Linked DNA regions of Homo sapiens: regions 1, 2, 3 and 4 are each linked to region 5. The links are contacts of gene promoters, found by promoter capture Hi-C in blood cells and fetal thymus (Javierre and others, 2016). All regions are on one chromosome and are shown on one strand. Each heading gives the region's core, a stretch centred on a gene start or on the middle of the fragment in contact. The rest is flanking DNA. Distances are from core to core; before and after follow the strand shown.

Region 1 (2,700 bases), core at 115-2,614, 360 kb after region 5:
CAATAAATGTAATCCAGCATATAAACAGAACCAAAGATAAAACATTGTTTTAAGAAGAGGTGACCAAACAGTATAAAACAAGAATATTTAAGAAAATGTGAAGTAGCATTCATTCATGCAGTTAATTAATAAGAAATATTATGTTGTTTTTCTGTGCTTTGTGATGGTTCTAGTGTTTACCATCTTTTAAAAGTTATTAATTTCTTGTGCTTTATTTTATTAGGCTAAAATGTTTAATTCCATATCTTATTTTGTGTTTATAATTCTGTTGTTTTCTATAAGGAAAGCACCCAAATAAAATAAGCTCAAGCCCCCACAAAATCTGTTTCTTTTCTAGCCCCTGTGTAAATAGCATAGGCTGCTAGTTTTCTATTCCACAGTTGTGTTCCATTATCGGTCTCAACACCAATTCCAAATATAACATATTTTTCTGAGTCCTGACAACTTAACTCCATACTCTGGTACCAAAGAAATTTTTGGAAAAGATGAATTTATTGAGATAAATGTACAGAATGAAGGGAGAATTCTAAATGAGGGGAGTAATGATCTCAAGTCTTTACTGTACCCCTTCCTTCAAATCTACAAAGGGACCCAAACTCTTTACTATGCATTCAGGGAAGAGAAATGCCTTGTGGGGAATCAGGTGACAGGTAGATTTTTTAAATCTGAAATTATTGGAAAAGATGAATTTACTGCCAAAAGAATGTATTGGAAAGATATGGGGGTACTGCTTAGAGAAAAAAGACATGTGAAGGAAAGTGAAACTGGATTTGGAGGGCTTAAGAATTAGACTATTTGCAAGGATTATGCAGCATAGATACACAGTCATTTCACAGTACCACTGTTAGGGTGAATAATTTCAGACATTTTTAGAGAGGGCAGCTGAACAGAAATGGTTAATAGTGTATACTCAGTAGTCATACTACCTGGGTTGAAATCATAACTCCTCCTCTGTGCGTTAGTTTTCTCATTTGTAAAATGTAGTAATAATTGTAGCTACCTCATTTGGTTATTATGGGGACTAAGTAAGTTAGTATACACAAGCACTGAGTGGTACCTAGTACATATGGGTGCTCATTAACATTTAGCTGTTAACTTTATTGTATCATTCCTCTCAAGATTAACATTTCAGCAAGAAAGAGCCTGATGGACAGCCAACTTTCTGACTAGATCATGGCTTCATACCTTGATTGCTCAGTCTGAATAAAATGAAAGAACCATAGTGTCCCTATGGAAAATTAATATGCTCTTACCTAAGAAGGGAAAAGGATACTGGAAGTGTAGAGATGCCCTTGCAGTCTCTACACTCTGTATCTGTAGATCTGGCCTCTTTCTTACGGTTTGTCCATCTGCATGTTAACCCCTCTTTCTTGTACCATACTGTTGTACTTAGTTGTTTCCTAGTCTTTATCCCTTTGCTAGACTCTAAGATCCTTGAGTACATAGTTTATGTTCTATTCATCTGTGAGTCTAACATAATACCTAGCATATAGATGCTCAGTAGACATGGTGTTGGATGAATGAATAAATAAATGCCCCAAGATGGATATTTACCTTTAGATCCAGAATACTGTTATCCGTGGGTTTTAGCCATCTTTGCTTTTTAATCCTGAAGACTTTATTCTCATTAAGTTTGAAATTCCCCCCTCTGCCTGTTTGCTTAGCTCAAAAGCCTTTGATGTGACAAAGCATGAGGAGCAAATCTGACTTTTCCAGTCGTAAAGACGGAAGATTTGAGAATTTTAGAATGGTCTAGGGAAACAATAAGGATCTGAGGACGTTAAAAGCACTGACAAGAGATTGGCTGAAGTAACAGACCATGGGGATTTAAACTAGTTAAGAAAAAGTGGATCTTGGAGGAGGATAATCATTTAGTTAATTGTAAATGTTATTATATAGTGACATGATGTATTATTTGAGTTCAGAGCATTATATAAAGGTAAAAATTATGATAAAAATGAGCATATTTATATCCAATGGTTCATTCAGTTTGAGGATTTCTTTTCAAGGCCTGATTATACTGCTTGCAGTATAAAATAAGCATCAGATGAGCGATAGCTAATGGTTTCATGAATTTGCTCACCATTGAAAATTAGGAAGAAAAATTAAATTGTAGGGCTTTTAGGTAACAGGTTCTCAAAAGATGTTTTTGACCTGAAACGAAGTGCTGTGTCTTTCGATTACTAGAGGAGACATAAAGATGAAATCATTTTTTTTCTTTTGCATCTTTTTCCCAATAACTGCCTCTTTTGCTCAATAAAATAGTTGGTGAGGGAAATGAGAATATTAGAACCTTTATTTTCTATCAGAGCAGCTAATTGCTGTCTGCCAAAGCACTATTTAACAACCAATGTAAAAATACAATTTCTATAAAACTGCAGGAGAGAATCAGAATTCTAGTACTTAGGAAAACTGCACAGTAAATACTGCTATCGACTTTCTGAAAATGTGTTATTAAACAATAGGTAACTCAAAAGGAGTTAAATATGATCATGGAGTATAGCAAGTTCATTTTATCAATCTTTTATAATATTGAATATTACCAACAACAAATATTTTATAATAATTGAGTCCTACTTATATATGTTACTTTAAAATTGGATAGTTTGAGTATATGTTAGCAACAAGAGATGATGTTATTGGCTGTGGGTGTTAATGTGCATTTGTCTTCATGGTGAGAAAGATAGTTGTGATTTAAAG
Region 2 (2,700 bases), core at 138-2,637, 340 kb after region 5:
ATGTAAATCTTTATAAAAGTTATGGCAAACATATTTCTGGGAGGAATACACTGATGTGTATGTGTATGCATGTTGATTATAGTTGCCTGGCAAAAGATTTCAGGCAACTGAAATCCCACCATTGAGCTATAATGTTTTAACATAAAGCAACTAGCCACAATATTTAATCAAATTTCCTGATTTTGATCTACTGGCAAGTTGTCATTCTTGACTAAATTAATCATGCGAAGATCAAATATCGCAATTATAAATTTAGGAAGTGAAACTATTACTTCTAAACTAGGACACTCTAGATTAATGTTCAAACCAATGTCTTTACGGACCAGCACCGGTCAGGACTTTAACATGATTTAATTGTATTCATTTATTGTTCTTTCTTTCCCTACAAACACCAACCACAATGAAATGCTGAGGTTAGGGAAGAAATGATTCTCTGGTGCTAAAATCACACTGCTTCCAGTACATGTAGTCTGATGTGTTAAACCAGGTGCACAATTTAAACTAAAGAAGATTTGATTCTGTGTAACAGAGATATTTACCTTTGTATGACTTTTACTTGAGAAAGTGTAATTATTTCTACACAGCCTGTTCTTAAGAATTTGCCATGGATAAATTCAGCTACTTTTATATTATATTTTTTTGAAAAAAATACTGTTGATAATATTAATATTAATGTAATAATGAGATAATATATCATCCCCATATAAAGATTATAACTGATTTCTTACAATCATACATTGATTGTAATCATAAAGTATATATTTAATAATTTTTAATCATTGGAAGGAAAATATGTTACACATGAAGTTATTTTAAAAAGTCTCAGACTTGTGTTTTTTCTTCATTTGAGGTAGTACATTTCAACTATAAAGTATGTAATAGTCTGTTTTTGCCAAAAAAAACTCACCTTTCAGAGCTATAAAATATACAGAATTGAAAGCTGACACCTAATATATTTTTCATTAGATACAGATGTTCAATGTAAAATTCTTTTTACAAGTATTCATGAAAAACAGGATAACTAAAAAGATATAATGTATAAAAAGTAAAAATCATACTTTTTGGTAAATTGTTAATGGCTTTTTAATGAAAGCCATTTTTTTCTTTTTATGATTTATGTGTTGTTTTAAGTATATTGTAACTATCTTATAACTTAAAATTATGAATGGAATCTTCAAATTGCCATAGAACTTAATGAAATAAGAATACATAAAGATCTATTACAAACGTAGAAAATCTTGCAAATAATTTGTAAAGAAATAATTCAACAATTTAGAGTAAAGTTTATCTTCTTTATCTTAAAATTTAAACTTATTTGAATAACATTATAATTAAGAGAATTATTTCTAATATTTACTTTCTGTAATTTTGTGAAATAATTTTCTTATTAGAAAATGTGGCCTGGCGTGGTGCCTTATGCCTGTAATCCCAGCACTTTGGGAGGCTGAGGCGGGCAGATCACTAGGTCAACAGATCGAGACCATCCAGGCCAACATGGTGAAACCCTGTCTCTACTAAAAATACCAAAATTAGGTGGGCATGGTAGTGCATGCCTGTAGTCCCAGCTACTTGGGAGGCAGAGGTTGCAGTGAGCCAAGATCGTGCCACTGCACTCCAGCCTGACGAGATCGCACCACTGCACTCCAGCCTGTGGTTAGTCACTTTCTGCTAAAAAAAAAAAAAAAAAGGAAAAAAAAAAAAAAAAGAGAAAATGCAGGCCAATATGATGAATACACAATACAAATTCTGTTACACTGGCTTTTTTGTATTTTGGGCATGCTACTTTCATTTCTGAACTGAGCTGCACACAATTTTGAAATAAAAGTTCTGCACAGGCTACCTGTGTGGTGAGTATTTAAAGCTACTGATGTTTTTCCACCTGCAGAAGTCATTATTTTAATTGGGGGCTAAAATATGAACTACTTAAAAAGTAATTTGTTTTCCTTAAGACTGCTCCCAAAAATGGAAAAAAAAAGTCATTTTAAGCAGATGTTTCTTGAAATCCAAATATATTAGATATTCTGAGTTTAACTTAAATGGTTCATCTGTTGTTCCAGTCGGATTTTATTTATTTATTTATTTATGAGACAGAGTGTCACTCTGTCACCCAGGCTGCAGTGCAGTGGTGTGATATCTGCTCACTGCAACCTCCGCCTCCCAGGTTCAAGCCACTCTCCTGCCTTATCCTCCCAAGTAGCTGGAATTACAGGCATGTGCCACAATACCTGGCTAATTTTTGTATTTTTAGTAGAGGCAGGGTTTCACCAAGTTAGCCAAGTTGGTCTTGAACTCCTGATCTCAGGTGATCTGCCTGTCTTGGCCTCCCAAAGTGCTGGGATTACAGTGAGCCACTGCACCCGGCCAGATTATATTTATTTTAAGGTTCATGGAATTGAACTACATGCCTGTTTCTTAAGATAAAAGATAAGCCTTGAGCATCTTGGTATAAAACTTTAAAATAATTTCTTTTTTTTTTTTTGCTTTTGACTTAACTGTGTTTCACAAAAATAATATTAATGTTTTCTCAAAGTTTTCTAGCAGCTTATTTCTTCATTTGTTCATTCACATGCTCACTGAGCACATTTACTAGGTGCCTAGTATGTGAATAACATTATGCTTACCTCTGTAGGAGATACAAAAAATAATAATAAAAAAGATATACCTCAAGGTTTGTAACATACTAAAGAAGACAAACACTGC
Region 3 (2,700 bases), core at 171-2,670, 380 kb after region 5:
CAAACAGTGGGCAAAGGACATGAATAGACAATTCTCAAAAGAAAATATACAAATGGCCAACAAACATCTGAAAAATGCTCAACATCACTAATTATCAGGGAAATGCAAATCAAAACCACAATGTGATACCACCTTCTGCAAGAATGGCCTTAATTTAAAAATCAAAAAATAATAGATGTTGGCATGGCTATGGTAAAAAAAGGAACACTTTTTTTTACTGCTGGTGGGAAATTAAACTAATACAACCACCATGGAAAACAGTATGGAGATTCCTTAAAGAACTAAAAGTGCAAATACTATTTGATCCAGCAATCCCACTACTGAGTATCTACCCAGAAGAAAATAAGTCATTATATGAAAGACACTTACACACGCATGTTTATAGCAGCACAATTTGCAATTGCGAAAATATGGAACCAGCCTAAATATCCATCAACTAATAAGTAGATAAAGAAAATGTGTCATATATATATATATGGTGTGTGTGTGTATGTGTATGTTTGTGTGTATATATGTATCATGGAATACTACTCAGTCATAAAATGGAATGAAATAATGGCATTCACAGCAACCTGAATAGAGTTCGAGACCATTATTCTAAGTGAAGTAACTCAGGAATGGACAACCAAACATTGTGTGTTCTCAGTTATAAGTGGGAGCTAAGCTATGAAGATGAAAAGGCATAAGAATAATATAATGGACTATGGGGACTTTGGGGGAAGGGTGGGAGGGGGTTGAGGGATAAAAGACAGCACAATGGGTACATTGTACACTGCTCAAGTGATGGGTGCACCGAAATCTCAGAAATTATACCTAAAGAACTTAGCCATGTAATGGAACACCACCTGTTTCCCCAAAACTATTGAAATAATAATAATAATAATAAATATTAAAATCTTTCTATTACTCCTCATTATGAACACTGAGATTTCTATTTAAATTTTTTAGATAGGCTCACCAATTGACTTAATTTTAAAGTGTAGAACTAGATTTTTGGAGGTTTTAAGAAATTAATCTCAGTCTGTTCATATGCAAACGATTAGTTGGGAGAAAAGAAGCTGTTCGTAGTTGATGATGATTCCCATGTGGATGTATATATAAATTAGGCACACAGTATATAAAAATGGAAGGAATGCATTTGTTGTCAAACTTCCTATACTTTCCCCTTTGCGAAGCATTTGATACTTCTCAAACTATCAATGACATAGTAATCTTTTTGTAGACATTTTTTTAAAGCTTTGTTAAGGTATAATTAACATGTAACAAAAATTACATATATTTATGGTGTATTTGTGATGTTTTCATATATGCATACGTTATGAAATGATTAAATCAAGGTAATTAAAATATTCATCACTCCACTTATTTTTTTCTGACGAGAACGTTTAAAATCTTCTCTCTTAGCAATTATTATGTGATACATTGTTATTAATAATAGTCACCAGGTTGTACAATAGATCTCCAGCACTTACTCATGCTGGCTAACTGAAACTGTACCCTTGACTAACATCTCCCAAGCCCTCAACCCCTTTCTCCTACCCCTGGCAATCACCGTTCTAGTCCCTGACTTTATGAGTTCAACATTTTTAGATTTCACCTATTAGAGAAGCTTTCAGTTCACAGCAAAATTGAGTGGAAAGTACACCAGAGTGGTATATTTGTTAACAGTCATTGAACCTACATTAACACATTGTCACCCAAAGTCCATAGTTTTTAGGGTTCACTCTTAGTGTTAAACAGTCTGGGTTTTTACAGATGACGTGTATCCACCAATATAATTACATACAGAATAGTTTCACTGACCTAACAATTCTGTGTGCTCTACCTTTTCATCCATCCCTCCCTGCTAAACCCTGATCTTTTTACTGTCTTCATGGTTTGCCTTTTCCAGATTGTCATGTAGTTGGAATCATACAGCCTGTAGTATTTTTTTAGATTGGCTTCTTTCACTTAGTAATATGCATTTAAACTTCCACCTTGTGTTTTCATGACTTGATAGCTCTTTATTTTTAGCACCGAATAATCCATTGTCTGACTTTACAATCGTTTCTTTATTATTCATCTACTAAAGGACATCTTGGTTGTTTCCAACGAACAGAACTGCTATAAGCATCCATGGGCAGGTTTTTAGTAGATATGTTTTCAACTTATTTACATAGTAACTTTTATTGTCCATCTTGTAAGCCTGAGGTTTGAGGACTAGGTTTGACCTTCATTTCAAACATTAGTTTATATTACTCCAGAGATGATTTCAGATAATTCAAAGTGCTGTACTTATTTGCCAACTTTGTTAGTTAAGTGATTAATTTCATGATTTTAGAGGAAGAAAGGTGTACTAAAACTCTGCTCTGAGAAACTTGTTTTATATTTCCTTTTTGTGTATGTGAATATTCCTATGGCATTACAGCATGAATATTGCACTAAAATTTTGATCTAAGATCTGTTCTATATAAAGTGGAATTTATCTTGGAGAGGGAGAAAGCAGAAAGGGTCAATTTTGGATTCAAGCTTAGTGTGTTCAACTGTCCTAAATCATAGCTCACTGCTTGAGGCACAGGGTCTTACTGCAGAGTCCCCAGGAGAGGGTTAAGATACCACAAAGTTTTTTTTCCCTTTTTAAACATTTCTATAATTTTTATCTTAAAGACTATATTTTCATCATTTTTCAAGCCACTTGGTTGTTATAGTTAGATACCTTGA
Region 4 (2,700 bases), core at 160-2,659, 470 kb after region 5:
CTGTTTTAAGTATTATGGGTAAGTACATGAATCATGGATGCTTACACCCTTGTCAAATACAGCATCAAGGAAGCATTCAGTGAAAGGCAATAGTGTATTTATGTATGTTTTCATTTTTTTCAGTGTAGCTTAGAAACAGAAAAGCAAAGAAAAAAGAAAAAACGACTCCTTCAAAGCAAGAGAGAAGCATTTTACAGTTCTGATAAATTTATAAGGACCCAAGCTGCAGAGCACTGACTAGGTCCATAGAGAAGATCAGGAAAAATATAAAACTGTCTTTGCAATAATTGGAAAATCCAAACAAACTACTAAGGCTGATACCTAGGAGAAATCTTCCAAGAGAAAGAAACCTCTGATATCTGATTTTACTATTAGTAATGTCCCATTCTTAAGGTGTCCGTATAAGGCAGTGTCTCACGTAAGATGTTTTAAAGGAAGTTGCATCTGTTTCTAAAAGGAAAACAATTCTCTAATTTTGTGGAACATGTTTTTAAAATGTAGCTATAAATTGTCTGTTCATTATTTCCTTTAAAAGCCTGGGAGTGGAAGGAGGTCAGCTCACGCCTTTGGAGAAAAACACCTCTCCAGTTACTGCCTACAGAACAACAGTCAAAGGGAAATTGTTACCAATACACCAGCAGTTTGGTCTTTGTCCTATTGCTCTCTGCGTGGAAAGTCAATCACTAGGCAATGAGTGTTGCCAGGAAAGAAGGCTTTTTCAGGTGCTGCAGCCTGTAATAGGAGATCAGTCCCAAATCCATCTCAACTGACTAAAATTAGGGGTTTATATAGCAGAGAAGAAATATAACTATGTGTAGGAAAACAGGAATTAGGGATGGGCAAGGAGGAGAAGTTGGTTACAAGAAGCAGGTGGTCCCTTAGGCAATCATGATGGGTGAGGGGTCTGGCTCCCATGGTGCAGATGTGATGATCTGGTAAGTTTCAGTTGCTTGACACTGTCTGGGAGTCCTGATGATTGATTTTCTGAGAAAAGAACTCAGATAAGACAGTTTTAACTTTCTCAAATTTTAAGACTGGGAGGGTCAATGTCTATGTTTATTCAAAAGAAATCATAAACATCAGTTCTATGGGACACTTGGGCAAGTTTCAAAAGGATGAGATAATCTCATGAAAAACCTAGATTCGGGTTTCAAAATGAGAAAACAGCAAATATATCCCTCCGCCTCACAATGACACAAAATCAATCAACAAAGATGTATGCCTCCTCCAACTATAGCTCTTATCAAAGGAACCTTCACATGATAAAGCTAGACTTTGGAGATAGATGTTATTCACAAAAATACAATTATGTCCATTAGACTCCTCTTACAAAGGCAGGAAAGTAAACCTAGATACATTGTAAAAGTATTTCCTGCTAATCCTCCCCTATTGACTGTGGTAAGAATATTGGACTGAAACCAACATCTGCAGTAGAAAGGATGTGGAAGAGGAAGTGAGCAGAAATTTAATTCCTGTATTATTCATATTCAGTATGGGACTCTGTTTCATGCTGTATCCACTTTGCAAAGTACTATGGATTCATTAAGAAATTAGCAAACTGAATATGTGCCTAAATGGCCAGCATACTCCAGGCTGAAAAGTGTTTCTGTCACTGCTTCCTAGAATTGTTTAAAAACTGTTGTGACTGGTGGTTCTTTCTGGTTGAAATGGCCTGCTCACAAACACTGAATTAGACTTGGGCATTTTGCCAGGGGCATTGATACCAAGAATGTTTGGAGGCAAGTCTTAAATGTAATTTGCAGAGCTAGGAGGTGCCAGAACTTCAAAATAGGCAAAGTTGCTCTCTCGAACAGTGGTAGAAAGAATCAAAGTGTTATTCTGACACTGGCCTTGGCAGTTTTTGTCCCAGTGACTTCAAATTTTGGAAGCTGGCAGTAAGACACATGCAGAAACTTGTGGGAATATGAATATGTGGATGAAATTATAAAAGCCCTAGTGATTTTATTTCTTTAGTGAAAGCTGTCATGAGTAAAGGACTAGACTGGAGTCAGGTGCTAAGAATCTGGCTCCAGTCCAACCTGACTCCAGTCAGGTTCTTGTTTTACAGAGGCGTACACTGAGAACCAGATCTTTGATTTGATTTGCTTGGGTCCTAAAATCTGGTTCTCAGTGTCTACATATGTAAAACAACATGGTACTGTGACCGAAACACCATGGGTTAGATCCTCTTGCTTGCTACATAGAAAGCTAATCACTAAGACAATGAGTATTGCCAGGGAAGGAGGCTTTATTTGGGTGCTGCAACCAAGAAGAACAAATCAGTCTCGAATTCATTTCACCAATCAATTAAAATTCAGGGTTTCTATAATGGGGAAGGAATGTAGCTACATGTAGGAAAACAGGAATTTTAGGGAGGGGCAAGGAGTCTGGCATTTAATTGTCTGGTGTCATCTGTTCCTTGCCTAAAGGTCAGTTTGCTGAGGAAGAAACTCAGATAAGACCAATTTAAGTTTCAAGTTTAAGACAAGGGAGGGTCAATTTCCATATTTATTTATTATTATTATTATCATTATTATTTGAGATGGAGTCTCACTCTGTCACCCAGGCTGGAGTGCAGTGGCACGATCTCAGCTCACTGCCACCTCTGCCTCCCAGGTTCAAGCAATTCTCCTGTCTCAGCCTCCCGAGTAGCTGAGACTACAGGCGCCTGCCACCATGCCCAGCTAATTTTTTTTTTTT
Region 5 (2,700 bases), core at 45-2,544:
AATTATCAATTACAATTTGTTGGCAAGCACAAGGTATAGCCACATATTTCATCAGTATATTGGTATTTCAGTAGTGTATTGTAAATTAGTTAAATAAAGATGCTTAAAATTCCAAGGAATTTATATTAAATTAACTGTATTTTATTTAATCAACTTCACTGAGTTTATAGCTATTCTTTTTTCTTCTCTCCATACCTCCCACCTCTTTTTCTTTATCTCTCCTTTCCTCTATTCTTCATTCTCTCCCTTTCTTTCTTTCATCTTTTTCCTGTCAGGAGTTAAAACAAACACATGAACAATGTAATTATGTATTTTGTGTGCACATATTTTATATTCAAGGGAGCCTAGGTGTCTTGGAACACCACAAGCATAAGTTAAATATGTTGAAATCTTTCTTCCCTGCAATACTGGCATCAGCGTGCTGGACAAAACGTAGCAAACTAGAAGTAACTTGTGAATTTTTAATAAAGTTGTCTTCCCTAGCAGAGCTAAATGCACCATTCTCCCTGCAAACTCTGGAGATGATGACATCTTCCCAATGGTTTCCATAGCATCCGTTCCTGAAGAGCCCCCGTATGGTCCTTGGTCAGGGCGATCCGCCCAGCTCCCCTAGAAAGTTGGCAACCTAGCTAGCCAAAAGAAGAGTCCCCTATTCCTGAAACTTACTCTGTCCGTGGTGCTGAAACATTGTACCGAGACCCGCCCAGACGGGCGCTGTCAGCCGCTGAAAAAAAAAATCTTCCCCGAGGCTGCCCAAATCAGAACTGTGTATCTTTTATTTACTCACGTCCTCAAAGAGCAGCAAGCCTTCTCCATCTTAATTTGACTCTACCGCAGAGCAGACTTACGCTGGCGTGATGGGAGGAGATCATGGGCAGAGAGGAAAAACTAATAGCAGCATTGCTCACCTGAGACCTGAGATGCTCCCATGAGTTTTGAATATGCTCTGCTCCTTACAGCAAAGACACCATTTTTAAAAGTACCATTCTTTTGACTTTGCTGTTCCCAAGGCTTCTGTGATATTCCGGCCCCTCCGTTTAAAAGCCATCAGATTTGAGAGCAATAAGTCTTCAAAACCGGGAATTTACATTGTTTTTCAGCTGACCGACTTCCAGGAAAAGGACTCAACCGCATCTACCCAAATACCGTGGCACTGCTTGCGCTCTTTGCCACCGGATCCTCCCCTTCCAATGAGACTTTCTGATTGTGTCTACCAACTCTCCTATTAGGAAACCCGTGGGTTGCATGCAGCTATTCTGTTGTATTCTCATTCTCACTCTCCCTCCCTTCTCTCACTCTCACTCTTGCTGGAGGCGAGCCACTACCATTCTGCTGAGAAGGAAAAGCCCGCAACTACTTTAAGAGATTAAGACAATATGCGCAATCCTCGCCTTTCCTAGCAATCACTATTTAAATCTGGCAAGAACTGACAACAGTCTTTGCAAGAATGGAATCCGTAAAACAAAGGATTTTGGCCCCAGGAAAAGAGGGGCTAAAGAATTTTGCTGGAAAATCACTCGGCCAGATCTACAGGTAAGACAAAGCGAACACTTGCTTACCTGGGGCTCAGCATGAAAAAATCTGCAGGGCCGTTTCCGTAAACCCTGGTGGCTCAGAAAGATTGTAATATGATCGGAAAGTCTTTTTGTTGCCCATTGCTTGGAGCGGGGGTGCTCTGGAAACCTGCTTATTAATGCAGGAATGTTGCACTAAATGAACCTGTCTGGTGTGTGTGTGTGTGTGTGTGTGTGTGTGTGTGTGTGTGTTTGATTTTTGCTTTGGTGCCTGCAGAGTTTTTGTCCTTTACTACACAGGATTTATCTTCTTTACAGTTAAGAAATGGCCAGCCCCTGCTCAAACAGCGTTTCTTTTGGTGCTTATAGATACCCCGAATTAAATTCCTTTGATGCAGACAAATGAATATAAAACACAACCATCTAAAAAAATAACCAAGAAATTCCAAAGAGTAATGGTTTATATATATATATATGTTATATATATATGTTATATATATATGTTATATATATATGTTATATATATATGTTATATATATATGTTATATATAGTTATATATATATGTTATATATATATGTTTTATATATATATATATATATATATGTTAGAGAGAGAGAGAAAGAGAGAGGTCTCAGCTTCAAAAGCATAGTAGAGAATCCCCTAGTGAAATATGTCTTCTGTATTGAATGAAGAAGAATCAAAATATATCAATAATTGATAGTTGAAGCAATTCCTTTCTCTGAGCCTGAAACAATGTATATGCATTTTTAATTATTTTCATCTCCTAGAGTCTATTTCTTGCATAGGAAATGTCAATGCCTGGAAGAACAGCCATAAATATAACAAGCAACATTACTTTGAAAGTCCTAGAAATGATTTAATTATTTAATCCTCCTGTAGTCACTATACTAATTATGCTGTAATTTGCAAAACTTTAAATCATTTCAAGTATGTTATATGGATACAGCTTTTCTTAATAATTAGAGCAAAATCAAGACGACAGGGCAGACATAAAAGGAAAAAGAATTACAAAGGAGCACTAATTTTAATATTTGGGAAATTGAAGTCTCTGTAAATGCATGAGAAATGTAAAGAAAATGATCAAACCACTCCCAGATTTTCCAAATCTCTTCAGGTTTGGCGGGCTTCATGTAGGCACGATTATGCACCTATGCGGCAGTAGAT

Evidence for each region. Contacts are between HindIII fragments. The CHiCAGO score rates a contact against its expected background, and 5 or more counts as called.
Region 1: a fragment that was not itself captured here is called in contact with the fragment with the promoter of SLC17A6 in region 5 in 4 of 17 cell types (naive CD8 T cells, total CD8 T cells, naive B cells and 1 more); the score reaches 8.2 in naive CD8 T cells.
Region 2: a fragment that was not itself captured here is called in contact with the fragment with the promoter of SLC17A6 in region 5 in 2 of 17 cell types (naive CD4 T cells and naive B cells); the score reaches 5.5 in naive CD4 T cells.
Region 3: a contact is called between a fragment that was not itself captured here and the fragment with the promoter of SLC17A6 in region 5, in 11 of 17 cell types (naive B cells, total CD8 T cells, naive CD8 T cells and 8 more). The highest score is 16.0, in naive B cells.
Region 4: a contact is called between a fragment that was not itself captured here and the fragment with the promoter of SLC17A6 in region 5, in 13 of 17 cell types (erythroblasts, naive B cells, naive CD8 T cells and 10 more). The highest score is 13.3, in erythroblasts.

The regions. Positions count from the first base shown.
Region 1 is chr11:22,698,725-22,701,424 of GRCh38, forward strand. The region is part of intron 3 of GAS2 (growth arrest specific 2); the gene reads left to right. Among named protein-coding and RNA genes, the nearest start is that of GAS2, 33 kb to the left of the region's middle. The HindIII fragment of the contact is 2,861 bases long and covers 1-2,700 here.
Region 2 is chr11:22,681,200-22,683,899 of GRCh38, forward strand. The region is part of intron 2 of GAS2 (growth arrest specific 2); the gene reads left to right. Among named protein-coding and RNA genes, the nearest start is that of GAS2, 16 kb to the left of the region's middle. The HindIII fragment of the contact is 3,764 bases long and covers 1-2,700 here.
Region 3 is chr11:22,717,796-22,720,495 of GRCh38, forward strand. The region is part of intron 3 of GAS2 (growth arrest specific 2); the gene reads left to right. Among named protein-coding and RNA genes, the nearest start is that of GAS2, 53 kb to the left of the region's middle. The HindIII fragment of the contact is 373 bases long and covers 1,235-1,607 here.
Region 4 is chr11:22,806,967-22,809,666 of GRCh38, forward strand. All of the region lies in intron 7 of GAS2 (growth arrest specific 2), which reads left to right. Among named protein-coding and RNA genes, the nearest start is that of LINC02718, 21 kb to the right of the region's middle. The HindIII fragment of the contact is 3,456 bases long and covers 1-2,700 here.
Region 5 is chr11:22,337,087-22,339,786 of GRCh38, forward strand. It overlaps SLC17A6 (solute carrier family 17 member 6), which reads left to right and starts at 1,295. Exons shown (of 12, transcript NM_020346.3): 1 at 1,295-1,533. The coding sequence starts at 1,448. SLC17A6-DT (SLC17A6 divergent transcript) reads right to left here and starts at 1,136. Exons shown (of 4, transcript NR_186351.1): 1 at 909-1,136. The HindIII fragment of the contact is 7,348 bases long and covers 1-2,700 here.